Linked DNA regions of Homo sapiens: region 2 is linked to region 1. The links are contacts of gene promoters, found by promoter capture Hi-C in blood cells and fetal thymus (Javierre and others, 2016). All regions are on one chromosome and are shown on one strand. The core of a region is centred on a gene start or on the middle of the fragment in contact, and the rest is flanking DNA. Distances in the headings are between cores, read along the strand shown. Region 1 holds the start of PDE2A (phosphodiesterase 2A). Region 2 has its middle 11 kb from the start of P2RY2.

Region 1 (6,519 bases), core at 3,471-5,970:
TGTGTGGTGGGGGACATGCTTAGTGTGAGAATGCAGAGACCCATGCCAGGCCCTACCCAAGGACATGGTGCTCCTTCAGCCATTGTCATCAGAGCCACAGAGGGGAGCTTCCTGGCAGAGGAGGAGTGGGGAGAAGCTGTGGAATGGCTCCTTGAGCTCCCCACTCCACCCCTTCCCCATGCCTGGGCTCCCATTGCAAAGACCCAGATGTGGGCTTATCCTGTCCCCCAGCCAGAGGGAGTCACCCAGGGGTGTTCAGGCCAACCCTTTGTGAAATCCATGTTCCACCAGTTACCAGCCTTTCTCCGGAGAGCTGAGGGCTGTCTCACACTGGGTAGTCTCAGCCTGCCCTGGGGTTGGGGGGGTGCTCACAGAGCAGTAAGCGTCACTGCCTGCATCCCCACACACCTGCATTATCTTGTCTGCAAGACACGTGTGCCCCTGAGCTGAGCTCTGTTGTGCACCACCCGATTTCCGTCGGCCTCCTTTCTGACTTTTCTCCATCAACATTTCCTGCTTGGGCCTGTTGCGGGCTACCCAAAGGCTGTGGACTGGGGCCGAGGTACATAGGACTTTGGCTTGTCTTTTGAGCTAACAGGATCCTGTAGAAGAAATGAGATGAGCCTGAGAGGGGGTCGGGGGGTGAGACATTAGGGAAGGGAGAGGCCACCAAGGGTCTCTAGCCCAGAATCCAATGCCCCTTCCTGCCTACCTGTCCTTGTGGGTGGGAGGCAGGGTGTGTGCTGACTGGCCCAGCAATGGTGGGCTAGGATTTGGGATAGGCAGAGAAAAGGAAGAGGAGGGGGAAGTCGGCCTGGGAGGAGAAACACTGTACAAAGTCGAGGAGGAGAGAACCAGAGTGTGCTTAGGGACCAGACCTGGCCCCACCTGGAGCAGAGGATGGTGAGGTCAGTCAGGGCTGGATCACAAGGGACCTCAAATGCCAGGCTGAGGAGCTTGGCCTTTATCCTGAGGGCACTGGGGAGCCCTGCAAAGGTTTTGAGAGGGAATTCCATTACCAGATAGATGTCTTTGGAAGCCGCCTCTAGGTGCAAGGAGGAGGTGGAGTAGAGAGGTTGACCTGGGGTAAGGGTTGGAGCATGACCAGGGGAGGGGGAAGGAAGCAGGGGGTGGGGATGGAGGGAGTGGATGGATCTAAGAGAATCTACTGTCCTTTGGAACAAACGATACAGGAAGTGTAGGAGAGGGATGGGGCAAGGCGACTTTGAAGTGTCCAGCTCAGAGATTGGAAGTTTGCTGATGCCTTTGGGAGGCCAAGGCAGGCAGATCACGAGGTCAGGAGTTGAAGACCAGCCTGGCCAATATGGTGAAACCCCGTCTCTACTAAAAATACAAAAATTAGCCGGGCGTGGTGCGGGTGCCTGTAGTCCCAGCTACTTAGGAGGCTGAGGCAGGAGAATTGCTTGAACCCGGGAGGCAGAGGTTGCAGTGAGCCCAGATCGCACCACTGCACTCCCCACTCCACCCCTTCCCCATGCCTGGGTGACAGAGCGAGACTCCGTCTCAAAAACAAAACAAAAACCCAAAAAACAAAAAACTAAGAAGTTTGCTGATGCCTTTAATAGTAACAAAAGGTGTATTGGATGTTCAATATTTGAGGGACCTACGGGTTGTTCCCAGAGGAGATGTCCAAGAGACAGCCTGGACACCTGGAGCTCCAGGGAGAGGGATGGGCAGCAGGGGACACCCGGAGTTGTTGGTATGCTGGGAGAAGGCTGCATGCTCCGTGGGAGTAGGGTGGAGAATGAGGAGAGACAGGGCCGCCGTCCTGCAAGGAGCATCCATATTGAGGGGGCGAAGATAGGGTGCACCAGTGAGGGAGACAGAGGAGGGGCCGTCTGGAAGGTGGGAGGGAAACAGCCGCGCAGGACGGGGCGGGGGCGGGCGCTGAGAAGAAGCCGCCTTCTTCGGCAAAGAGGTAGCTGAAGCCTGTGGAGCCTGCAGTCCTCTCAAGGCTATGGGGGCAGCGCGGAGGCCGGATTCCAGAACTGAATCTTCCCATCGCTTTGGGCAGCCACCCTACCTCCCAGGAGCATCCTTCCTGCCATCCCACCTCCAGTTCCCCAGCTAACAAAAAACGGTGTTTCTTGACTCCCGGCAGGGCGGCGGGGCGGGCAGGTCTTGTGAACACGGCTCGCAGGGTTCAGCACCCTGGAGAGAGGCCTGTGGCCGGGGCGGGGCCTGCGGCGGGGGTAGGGGCGCGCAGTCAGAGCAGTCGGGCCTTTGGCTCCGTCTGGGAGCGGTCTTGCAGGCAGGCAATTGATGGAGGAGGGAAAAACAATCTTGGATTTTCTCCAGCTCTCTCCCCTTTATGCACCTCCCCCATCCCGGCACTGGCCTACAGGAGCCCCTATCCCAGCATTTGGGGCTATTACTCTCCTGACGACTTCAGGAAATGAGATGGGAGGAGAGGGGCAACTATTTACTGGGAACTTTTCAGACATTCCCAAAACCTCACAACCTTTTGAGCTTGGAATTCGTGACCCCATATTTCAGATGAGGAAACTAAATTGAAGTTCAGGAAGGTGAAATACCTTGCCTAGGCACTTGGCAGAGCTGGGATTTGAATTCCACCTGCCGGGCTCTAAGTCCTGAGTGCCCATTAGCCCTTCTGAGTCCTGAATCTTGCAGTTTGTTCCTGCAGACTCTCCACTTCTGGGTGGCTGTGGAGTCTGGTGTGGCAGTGGGATGGGGAGGAGACCTTCCCTTCCACCTGCTTGCTTGAGTGTATTCCCAGGAGATTTCTGAAGATGAGGCCACCACCATTGTTTCTGAAGTGGGAGGGCAGAAAGGAGGCTGAGGGCCAGGTGAGACCTCGTCACACCTGCACCCATGCATGCCCAGGAGGAACCCTCCTTTGAACTCTTCTGACTCAGCTTCTTGCTGCCAGGTTCCTCCGACCAGTGAGCAGGTTCCCAGGACATGAAGGGGAGCTGTGAGGGAGCAGGACGCCATGGTCCAGGGCTGCAGCTTCCTGAGCCCAGAGAATGCCTTCCTAGCTGTCAGGAATGGAGCAGCGAGGCCCCAGTGATAGGTGAGGTGGAGAAGCAAGACATGAGTTCTGGGCTGGCTCAGCTGCTTTACAACCAGCCTGGGCCTCGTTCCCTTTGAGAAAATGGTTTGCCCAGAGTTCAGAGATCTAAAATTCTATGATGCCTTCTGGGGCCACAGTGGGAAGCAAAGACTCCTCATATTTTCTTTCCTGACACTTCCCAGGCCACAAGACAACTGCTTTCTGCAGCACCCAGCCTGGGCAGGCCATCTACACAAGCTCAGTCATTTCTGACCTTGCCCCCTCCACCGTGCACCCCCATGTTCTTCAACATGGGTCAGGTTTCTATTCAGCCTCAGGGACTTCTCTGCTTGAAGCCTGTTGTGTGGCGGGGAGGTATTCTCCCCACAGCTCAGAGAGATGGGGTTGCTGTGGAGGGTTTGCTGTAGCTCCTCTACCCTGGAATATACCCTCTTCTGCCTTAAAAGACCCAGCTTGGACCCTCTCTTCCAGAAATGCTTGCTAACCGCCCCCCCACCACCCAAACTAGGTCAGGGGTCCCTCTGGGCTTCACAGACCCTGTGCTTCTTTCTGTCACAGCCTGCAAGTCTCCCCTCCCCACTCCCCAGCCCGAGTGCTTCTCTGAGACAAGGGATAGTGTGAGCCATGAGCTCAGCCACTGGTAGGCCAATGAATAAGTAAGTTAATGGTGAAGCCAGGATCCAAATCCCCATTTCCTGCCTCAAGGTGTGGAGCTGTTTCTCCTGCATACAATAGTAGCTCTGCTGTGACAACTCTCTATCTGTCCTAGGGCCTAAAATGCCTCTATTTCACTAGGTTATAGCTTTATCCTAGGGAGTCCTCTTTGGAAGCAGGGTGGGGGTGCAACAGGCCTTCCCCCATGCCTGTAGTCTGTGAGCAGCGAAGGCCATGTGGGGCAGGCTGTGGCCTAGGTCTCCACAGATCCTGGTAGAAGTCCATGCTCACGCATCAGCTCCAAGTCCCAGCTAAACCAAGCCACCAAGAGGTGGGCCCTGTGACAAGGCTCTGAGTCCAAAGGCCATCAGTAAAGCCCCCTAAGTCTTCCGTGGACCCAGCTCCAGGCTGGGATGCACGCTAGGAGATGATACACACCGGGTGAGGGAGCCCAGAGGAGAGGGCAGCTAGCTGTGCATGGAGGCCTGATCTCTCAGACTTGAGGGCACAAGCGTGTCCCCTCATCCTGAAGGCTTCTGCGATGGGGCAGCAGAGGGTCTGGGTCTGCTGCCCCTCAAGTCCCCAGCCCCATCCTAGCCCATGAGGATTGTAAATCCCTCGTCCTCTCCCCTCTCTCCTCTGTCAGCCACTCCCCTTTCCCCCTACCCCACTCTCTTTCTATTTCTGCCTCTGATTTTTTTTCCTTTTCTGCCTTTGTTCCTCTGTGTGTGTGTTTCTCTATGCCTCTCTGGTCTCTTTGTACTTCCATCTTGATCTCGCTAAGGCTCTGATCCCTCTCTCCTCTCCCTCTTCATGTGTTACTGTCCCCCTTCCTGTCTCTGTTTATCTCTCAGTCTCTCTGTCTGTGAGTCTTTTTTCCTCTCTCCCAGTCAGACTCTCTCTCTACCCCTCCCTCTCTCCCTCTCTCCCTCTCTGTCTGGGCCTCTCTCTGTTCCTCCTCCCTCCTCCCTCCCCCTTCTGCATTATCAGACCTGCTCCAACCTCCTCCCAGAGCCAGCCGAGCAGCAGAGGCAGTGGCAGCGGGAGAGGCGGGAGCAGCGGGGCAGCAGAGCTGGATTGGGGTGTTGAGTCCAGGCTGAGTAGGGGGCAGCCCACTGCTCTTGGTCCCTGTGCCTGCTGGGGGTGCCCTGCCCTGAACTCCAGGCAGCGGGGACAGGGCGAGGTGCCACCTTAGTCTGGCTGGGGAGGCGGACGATGAGGAGTGATGGGGCAGGCATGCGGCCACTCCATCCTCTGCAGGAGCCAGCAGTACCCGGCAGCGCGACCGGCTGAGCCGTGAGTATAGTGAGGGGCTGGGGTGGTGAGCGGCTGTGAGAGGTGCCACAGACAGGGTCCTGGGAGTCCCTCCAAGGAGCTGGGGTTGGCATGGAGCTGAGCCACGTGGAAGGATCGATCCTGTTCCTGGGCACCCCTCCTCCCCGCGTTGCCAGACTGCAGCCTGGGGTGGGGGCAGGTTACCTCTGAGCAGAATGAGGGTGTCTAACGTCAACCTAGTAGGTGATGAGGCTGGGGTCCCATGGAAGGGGCTGCTGGTTGGAGGAGGGGCTGATAATGAACCTGAACCGGTTCTTCAAGGGCTGAGGGTGTATGTGGGGAGGGGGAGGTCTGCCAAGTAGTTGGGAGGAGCTCTCGGGGCTGCAATAGGCTGGTTCAGGACCCGGAGAGGGAGAGTGTCTTGGCCCACCAAGGCTATGTGTGTGTGAAGGAGGTGGGGAGGGGGAAAGATGGAGAAAATATGAATAAGAGTGGCCCTGGAGCAAGAGAGGGTTAGAGGTAACCACCTTCCATGGAATTGGGAATTGGGGTTCAGGGACACCACTTTATGAAACTTTACCCCAAAGCGTCTGTCCCAGGATAGGGTTCTACGGAGCCAGATGGAATATGGTGCCAGCCTCGTGTGTGTCCACGTGCAGGGGGGTGCATGTGCAAGTGAGTGGGGGGCGCCGTGGCGACACCCCTCTACTAAGGGCTGCCGAGGTGGTAGGCAGGGTATGTGTGTGTGTGTGTGTGTGTATACATGTGGAATGTAAGGGACATGTTGGGTGTAGAGGGGCCTGTAGAGCTCTAGGGTCCTTGGTGGTTGGATGTAAAGCAGCCTGTCAGAGTTTGTGATCATCCCTGTGTGAGTGAGAGTTTATTCGCATGTGTCTGAGTGTGAGTGCAGGTTGGTCTGCATATGTATGTAGGTGTGTCTATTAGGTTGAGTTTGTATATTATGTGTGTTGTGTCTGCAAAATAGAGTGAATCAGTGTGCATTTTTTATCTGTTCCATGTGCATTTATGTGTGTGTATTTGTTAGTGTGTGAATAATAGCATTGCTGTGTGTGGAGGTGGATGTGGCTGTGTGCGTATAAGTATTCTGGTGTGGGTGTGTGATCATGGTGCTAGTGTGTATATCGGTGCTTCTGTGGCTGGTGTGTGTGTGTATCTATATGTGTGTATTCATCTGAGTGTGTGTGGGTGGCTGTTTCCTTCCCCTGGCAATTGAGGATACAGCTGGGACACCATGGCCCACTGATGCAGGGCAGGGAGGGGCTGAATGTATGACCGCCTCTTTGAACTCAGGACAATTCATTCTACACCCTGTGGGAAAGATGCAGAAAAGAAATAGGCAATAATGACTCTGCCCTCTGGGGCTTCCTAAGCTTCTTAGACATAAAATAGCTTGAGAATAATTAAGCAGTAGAGATCAACGTCATGCTAACAGGTGGGGGTGGGGTGGGAACTGCATAAGCAAAGGCCCTGGGCTGGGCATGTCCTGGAGCAGTGAAGACACTGTATAGAGTGGG
Region 2 (5,793 bases), core at 2,730-5,229, 530 kb before region 1:
CTCCTGACCTCAAGTGATCCATCTGCCTCAGCTTCCCTCATTTTCCTTTTTGAAAAAACACAAAAGAGTATCATAAAGATACACACTGACCCTTGCATGTTATCACTTAACAGTGTATCTTGGAGATCTTTCCAAGTCAGTACATTGGAAGCTTCTTCATTCTTTATAAGGGCCGCATAGTATCCCATTGTATAGTCATACCATAATGTATTTAACCAGTCCTCTGTTGGTGGACATTTGGGTTGTTGCCAATTTTTTGCTAGTACAAACAATGCTGCAATGAATAGCCTTGTACATATTTTTTTGCTTGGGTGTAAATATATGTAGGAAAATTTCACAGAAACTTATTACTCGATCAAAAGGATTGTGCATTTGAAGATGTGATAACTGTTGTCAAATTGTCAGCCACCGAGATTGTATTCATTTACCCTTCCACCAGCAGTGTATGGGAGTGCCTGTATCTCCATAGCCTCATCAACACTGTGATATCAAACTTTTGGATTTTTGCCAGTCTGATAGGTGAAAAGTCATGTCTCAGTGTAGTTTTAATTTGTCAGGTTTTTTTTTTTGTTTTGAGTGCATATCTTCATAACAAAAGTATAATTTATGATCCATTTCCATTTCCTTTTCCATTACAGTCATGAGTTGCTTAAAGACTGGGATGCTTTCTAAGAAACGTGTCACTTTGCGATTTCATCATTGTGTGAACGTGAACACAAACCCAGATGGTATAGCCTACTACACACCTAGGCTATATGGTATAGCCTATTGCTCCTAGGCCACAAACTTGTACCTGTACTGAATACTAGAGGCAATTGTAATACAATGGTAAGTATTCGTATATCTAGACATATCTACACATAGAAAAGGTACAGTAAAAACACAGTATTATAATCCTATGGGACCACTGTTGTATATGCAGTTCATCATTGATCAAAACATCACTATGCGGTGCATGACTGTATATCCTTTAGCCATTTTTCTATTAAGTTGTTGGTCTTACTGATTTGCATTAGCTTATTGTATTTTAGGAAGATTATTCATCCCTCTGTCTGTGACCTGAATTGAAAATATTTTTTCCTAGTTTGTCATTTGTCTTTAGGTTTTACTTAGTGTCTTAGTCCATTTTCTGTTGCTATGACTGAATACCATAGACAGGGTAATTAATAAAGAATAGAGATTTATTTAGCTCATGATTCTGGAGGCTGGGAAGTTCAAGAGCATGGTTCAGGCATCTAGTGAGGGCCTTCCTGCTGTAGCATGACATGGTGAGAGGTATCGCATGGCAATACGGAGCAAGCATGCTAGCTTAGGTTTCTCTTCCTCTCCTTATAAAGCTACCAGTCCCATCATGTGGGCCCCACCTTGATGACTTTGTCTAATCCTAAGTGCCTCCTGAAGGCCCCACTTCCAATCAACAATGAATTTAGGGATTAAGTCACTAACACATGAAATTTGGAGGACATGTTCAAATCATAGCACTTAGGTTTGTAACTTTTTTTTAACATAGAAGTTTTAATTTTTCTGTGATTTAATTTATCAATCTTTTATTTTTATTTTTATTTTTTTTTTATTCAGGGTCTCATTTTGTCCCCCAGGCTGGAGTGCAGTGGCATTTTCTCAGCTCACTGCAGCCTTGACCTCCCAGGCTCAAGCAATCCTCTCTCCTCAGCCTCATAAGTACCTGGGACTACAGGCGTGCACCACCACACCTAGCTAATTTTGTTTTGTTTTTTGTAGAGACAAGGTCTCACTATGTTGCCCAAGCTGGTCTCAAACTCCTGTACTCAAGTGATCCTCCTACCTCAGCCTCCCAAAGTGCTGGGATTACAGATGTGAGCCATGGCACCTGGCCAATCTCTTCTTTTATGGCTTCTGGAGTTTGAGTCATAATTAGAAAGGTTTTTCTACTCCAACATTTCTTCCCCATATATTCTTTTAATACTTGTTTTTCTCTTTTTTCACGTTTATCTTTAATACATGTATTTGGATATTCTGTATTATTTTAAGTATTTCTTGTAAGCAGCATATTATGTAGTTGACTTTTGTTTTTAAACATGAGAATATAAAAATATTTGCCTTCAATAACTTAGCTTAATTTGTTTATATATATTTCATAATAATGTGGCCTCATTTTGCTTCATTTTTGTGCTTCCTTATTGCTTTATTTTTTGTTCTTTGCTATACTTTTTAGGCTTTTCTTGCTTTTAGCTTCTATAATGATTTTGAAGGTGAAGATCAAGTTTGTAATTCTTTAAACCTTTTTTTCTTTTGAGACAGGATCTCGCTCTGTCACCCAGGCTGGAGTGCAATGGTGGGATCTCAGCTCACTACAGCCTCCACCTCCCAGGTTCAAGTAATTCTCATGCCTCAGCCACCCGAGTAGCTGGGATTACCAGCACACGCTGCCACACACAGCTGATTTTTGTATTTTTAGTAGAGATGGGATTTCACCATGTTAGCCAGGCTGGTCTCGAACTCCTGGCCTCAAGTTATCCACCTGCCTCAGCCTCCTAAGGTCCTGGGACTACAGACGTGAGCCACTGCACCTGGCCTTTTTAAATCTTTAGATTAGTCAACCACATATACTTAAATGTATATTTATCAAATTACCAAAGTCAGTAGAAGGTGCTGTTTTTTACACTGTACTGGCTGTGTTTAATGGATCTCTACTTTTGTCTGCATTGTACAGATGAGGAAACTAAAGCTCAGCATGTTTAAGTAGTTTGCCCAAGGTCGCCCAATAATTTTTTTTTTTTTGAGACGGAGTCTTGCTCTGTTGCCCAGGCTGGAGTGCAGTGGCGCAATCTCGGGTCACTGCAACCTCCACCTCCTGGGTTCAAGTGATTGTCCTGCCTCAGCCCACCGAGCAGCTGGGATTACAGGCACACACCACCACGCCCGGCTAGTTTTTGTATTTTTAGTAGAGACGGCGTTTCTCCATATTGGCCAGGCTAGTCTCGAACTTCTGACCTCAGGTGATCTGCCCACCTCAGCTTCCCAAAGTGCTGGGATTACAGGCATGAGCCACCGTGCCCAGCCTAATAATTTTTAATGATCTCTGGATGATGAGAAATTAGCAAGCTTAAGCCAGGCAGGGCAACCCCAGAGCTGGAGTGGAGGAAATCTCGGCTAAACAACAGGGCTGAAAATGAAGGAGGGGCGAATTCCTCAAAGTAAAATCCCTATGGCCTCATAACCTTTCATATGGAACTCTTGGATTTTTGCCAGTCTGATAGGTGAGAAATCATAGCTCACTGTAGTTGTGGTTTGCATTTCTCTTATGAGTGAGACCAACCATCTTTTCATATATTTGAAAGCCATTTGCATCTTCATTTAGATGAACTGCCTATTCATATCTTTTGCCCACTTGGGAGGTACTCAGCAAATAACCACTAAATCAAAGCTTCCTGGATTGTTTGTTTGTTTTGAGAATACCAAACAGATGACTTTTAGAGTTTTATTCTTTCTTACAGAAAATCATTTCTGAGATAATAAACTCTTCATCTGAACCTTCGGGACAATTTTCTTCCTGCCGGTGCTGTGAGATCTTCTCACAGATTCCATATTGATTGTTTTTGTTCACTCTCTCTTGATCAGGCGGAAATAAAGCCAGGCTAAGGACTGCCCCCTGATCCTTTCAACCTTATGCAGTAAAGCTCAATAATTGTGGAAGTCTCAGTTCCACCATTGGACAGCCAGTGTAGACACAGAAAAAGAAGCTGACCGGGGTCGATTAGGGGAATTTTCATCATCATATCATGGCACTTGAACAGCACTCTGTGTATGTAAATTCATGTATTATGTGTGTGCATTTGTGTATATATATATACACTAAATACATATGTGCTAAATTTATGCACACACATTAATTTAGTTCTCACAACATTTCTGTAAACAGTACTGTAAACAGTACAACATTCCTGTAAATAGTACTTTTACTGTTTCCATTTTACAGATGACCAAGGTGAGGCACAGAGAGGTTATATAACTTGTCCAAGCTCACACAGCTAAAATCTGGTGGAACCATAACTACCTACATGATCTGATCCCAGAATCCATTCCCTCAATCATTCTGACCGGCTTGGAAGATAATTTCTGTGTTGTTAAGCCATGACCAAACATCCATCTGGTCACTGCTGCCCCTGAGTCTCTGAGACTGGTGTAGGCAGTGGGGATTAGTCTCTCTTATCTACTTTGGAACCTTCGGTTCTTCATTCATTAATTCATTTAATCCTCTGATTCATTCAATAAATATGTATTGAGTGCCTACTATGTGTCAAGTCCTGTGCCGGGTGCCAGAGATACCAAGATAAATTAGATATGGTCTTTGTCCTTAAAGGCCTTGAAAGGTGGGGGATAAGACATGGTCAGTTAACGGCACAGATGACACATGCTGTTCTGTTCCAAAGGGAGTAGCAGGTGGTGTGTTGTCTAAGAATGTGTTTCTCAATCTGGCCCCATCTACCATCTGGTTAGCGCAATTTCTCCCTTGCACTTTACCCTGTGATCTTCTCTTATCTTTAGTTTCTAAAGCATCACTGCAAGCTTTTGGATTTCTGCATATCTTCTTGAGCATTTTCACAGGATATGGAGATTAGTCTCATCAGTCATATCTGCTGTCCTTTTTTTATCATCCCAGGAAAGTGTCCTTGTTCCTGTAAGTAATGGGAAGCCAGGGAAGGATTCAGAGTAGGATAGATGGGCACTTTAGAATGACCACTCCAGCTATAATGTGGAAAATAGACTGAATGGTGGAGGTAAGATAAGCAGCCCAGTCAGAAAACTGCTCCAGTGCCCAGGTGGAATTATCTGAGCAAAGACTGCGGCTGGGGGAGACAGGAGGGTATGGATTCAATGAGTATCAAGCAAATGGAATCAAAGGGACTAAGTAATTCAATCAACAGTGTTTAATTAGCACCTGTTAAGTGCCAGGCACTGTGCCAGGTGCCCAGAATACAGCAGGGAACAAGATAGACACAGCCTCTGCCTTCATTGCATCTAGATGGGGAAATGGACAATTGGAGCCTTTACAATAAAAGATGATAAACAATGCAACAGAGGACATCAGGGCACTGCAGGAAAACAGAAGGGGGCACACGAGGGGGCGTGAGGGAAGAGTCCGGGCTGATGCCTGGATTTCTGCCTTGGCTGCAGGAGTATATGATGGGGCCATCGTCTGAGCCAGAGAATCCAGGAGGGCAGAACCCTATGGACGTCTCTCTGGGTCCCCCCAAGCCCAGGCCAGGGCAGGAGCAGGGGAGGTGGTGAGCAGAGACTGTTGAATGAATGGATAAATGAATGTGGGCATGCGAATACTCCCCAGCCCTCAGCCCGGCCCTGAAAGAGGAAGATGGGGAGTGGTCCTGAAAGAAACTAGAAGTTTCAGGAAGCCCAGTGGTTACTCAACAACCACAAACTGTCAGCCTCTTCCCAGTTACCCAACGGGCCATATGAGGCAGCCGTGACGCTCCTGATGTCCAGCAGGACAAGCCGGGCTGCCCATGACTCTGTATCTGGGGCCTGGATAGCGGGCAGACTCAGCATACCCCTAGCTGTTCTGAGGCCACCAGTGTGGGCCCCAAAGGCTATTGGAGACCTTCCTGGAACTGGCAGGGAAGGAAGAATTAGCCCTCCAAATTCCCTGGGCATGTGTTCCTAGAGTTGGGACCCTTCCTCTGGCTCCTGCATTCTTGAAGTGTCCCCCTGCCTCAGCACCAAGCCTCCTGGGCTGGGCCTGGGTCTGTTTGCCTCTATCCAAAAGCAGAAATTGATAATTATCTTCTGTGTGCC

Evidence for each region. Contacts are between HindIII fragments. The CHiCAGO score rates a contact against its expected background, and 5 or more counts as called.
Region 2: a contact is called between a fragment that was not itself captured here and the fragment with the promoter of PDE2A in region 1, in 1 of 17 cell types (naive CD4 T cells). The highest score is 5.5, in naive CD4 T cells.

Annotation. Positions count from the first base shown.
Region 1 is chr11:72,672,623-72,679,141 of GRCh38, reverse strand. PDE2A (phosphodiesterase 2A) reads left to right here and starts at 4,720. Exons shown (of 31, transcript NM_002599.5): 1 at 4,720-5,005. The coding sequence starts at 4,935. RefSeq lists a silencer at 2,086-2,135 and enhancers at 2,996-3,496, 3,647-4,271, 4,272-4,898, 4,899-5,524, 5,525-6,151. The HindIII fragment of the contact is 6,386 bases long and covers 1-6,377 here.
Region 2 is chr11:73,204,506-73,210,298 of GRCh38, reverse strand. No RefSeq gene overlaps it. Among named protein-coding and RNA genes, the nearest start is that of P2RY2, 11 kb to the left of the region's middle. The HindIII fragment of the contact is 1,142 bases long and covers 3,409-4,550 here.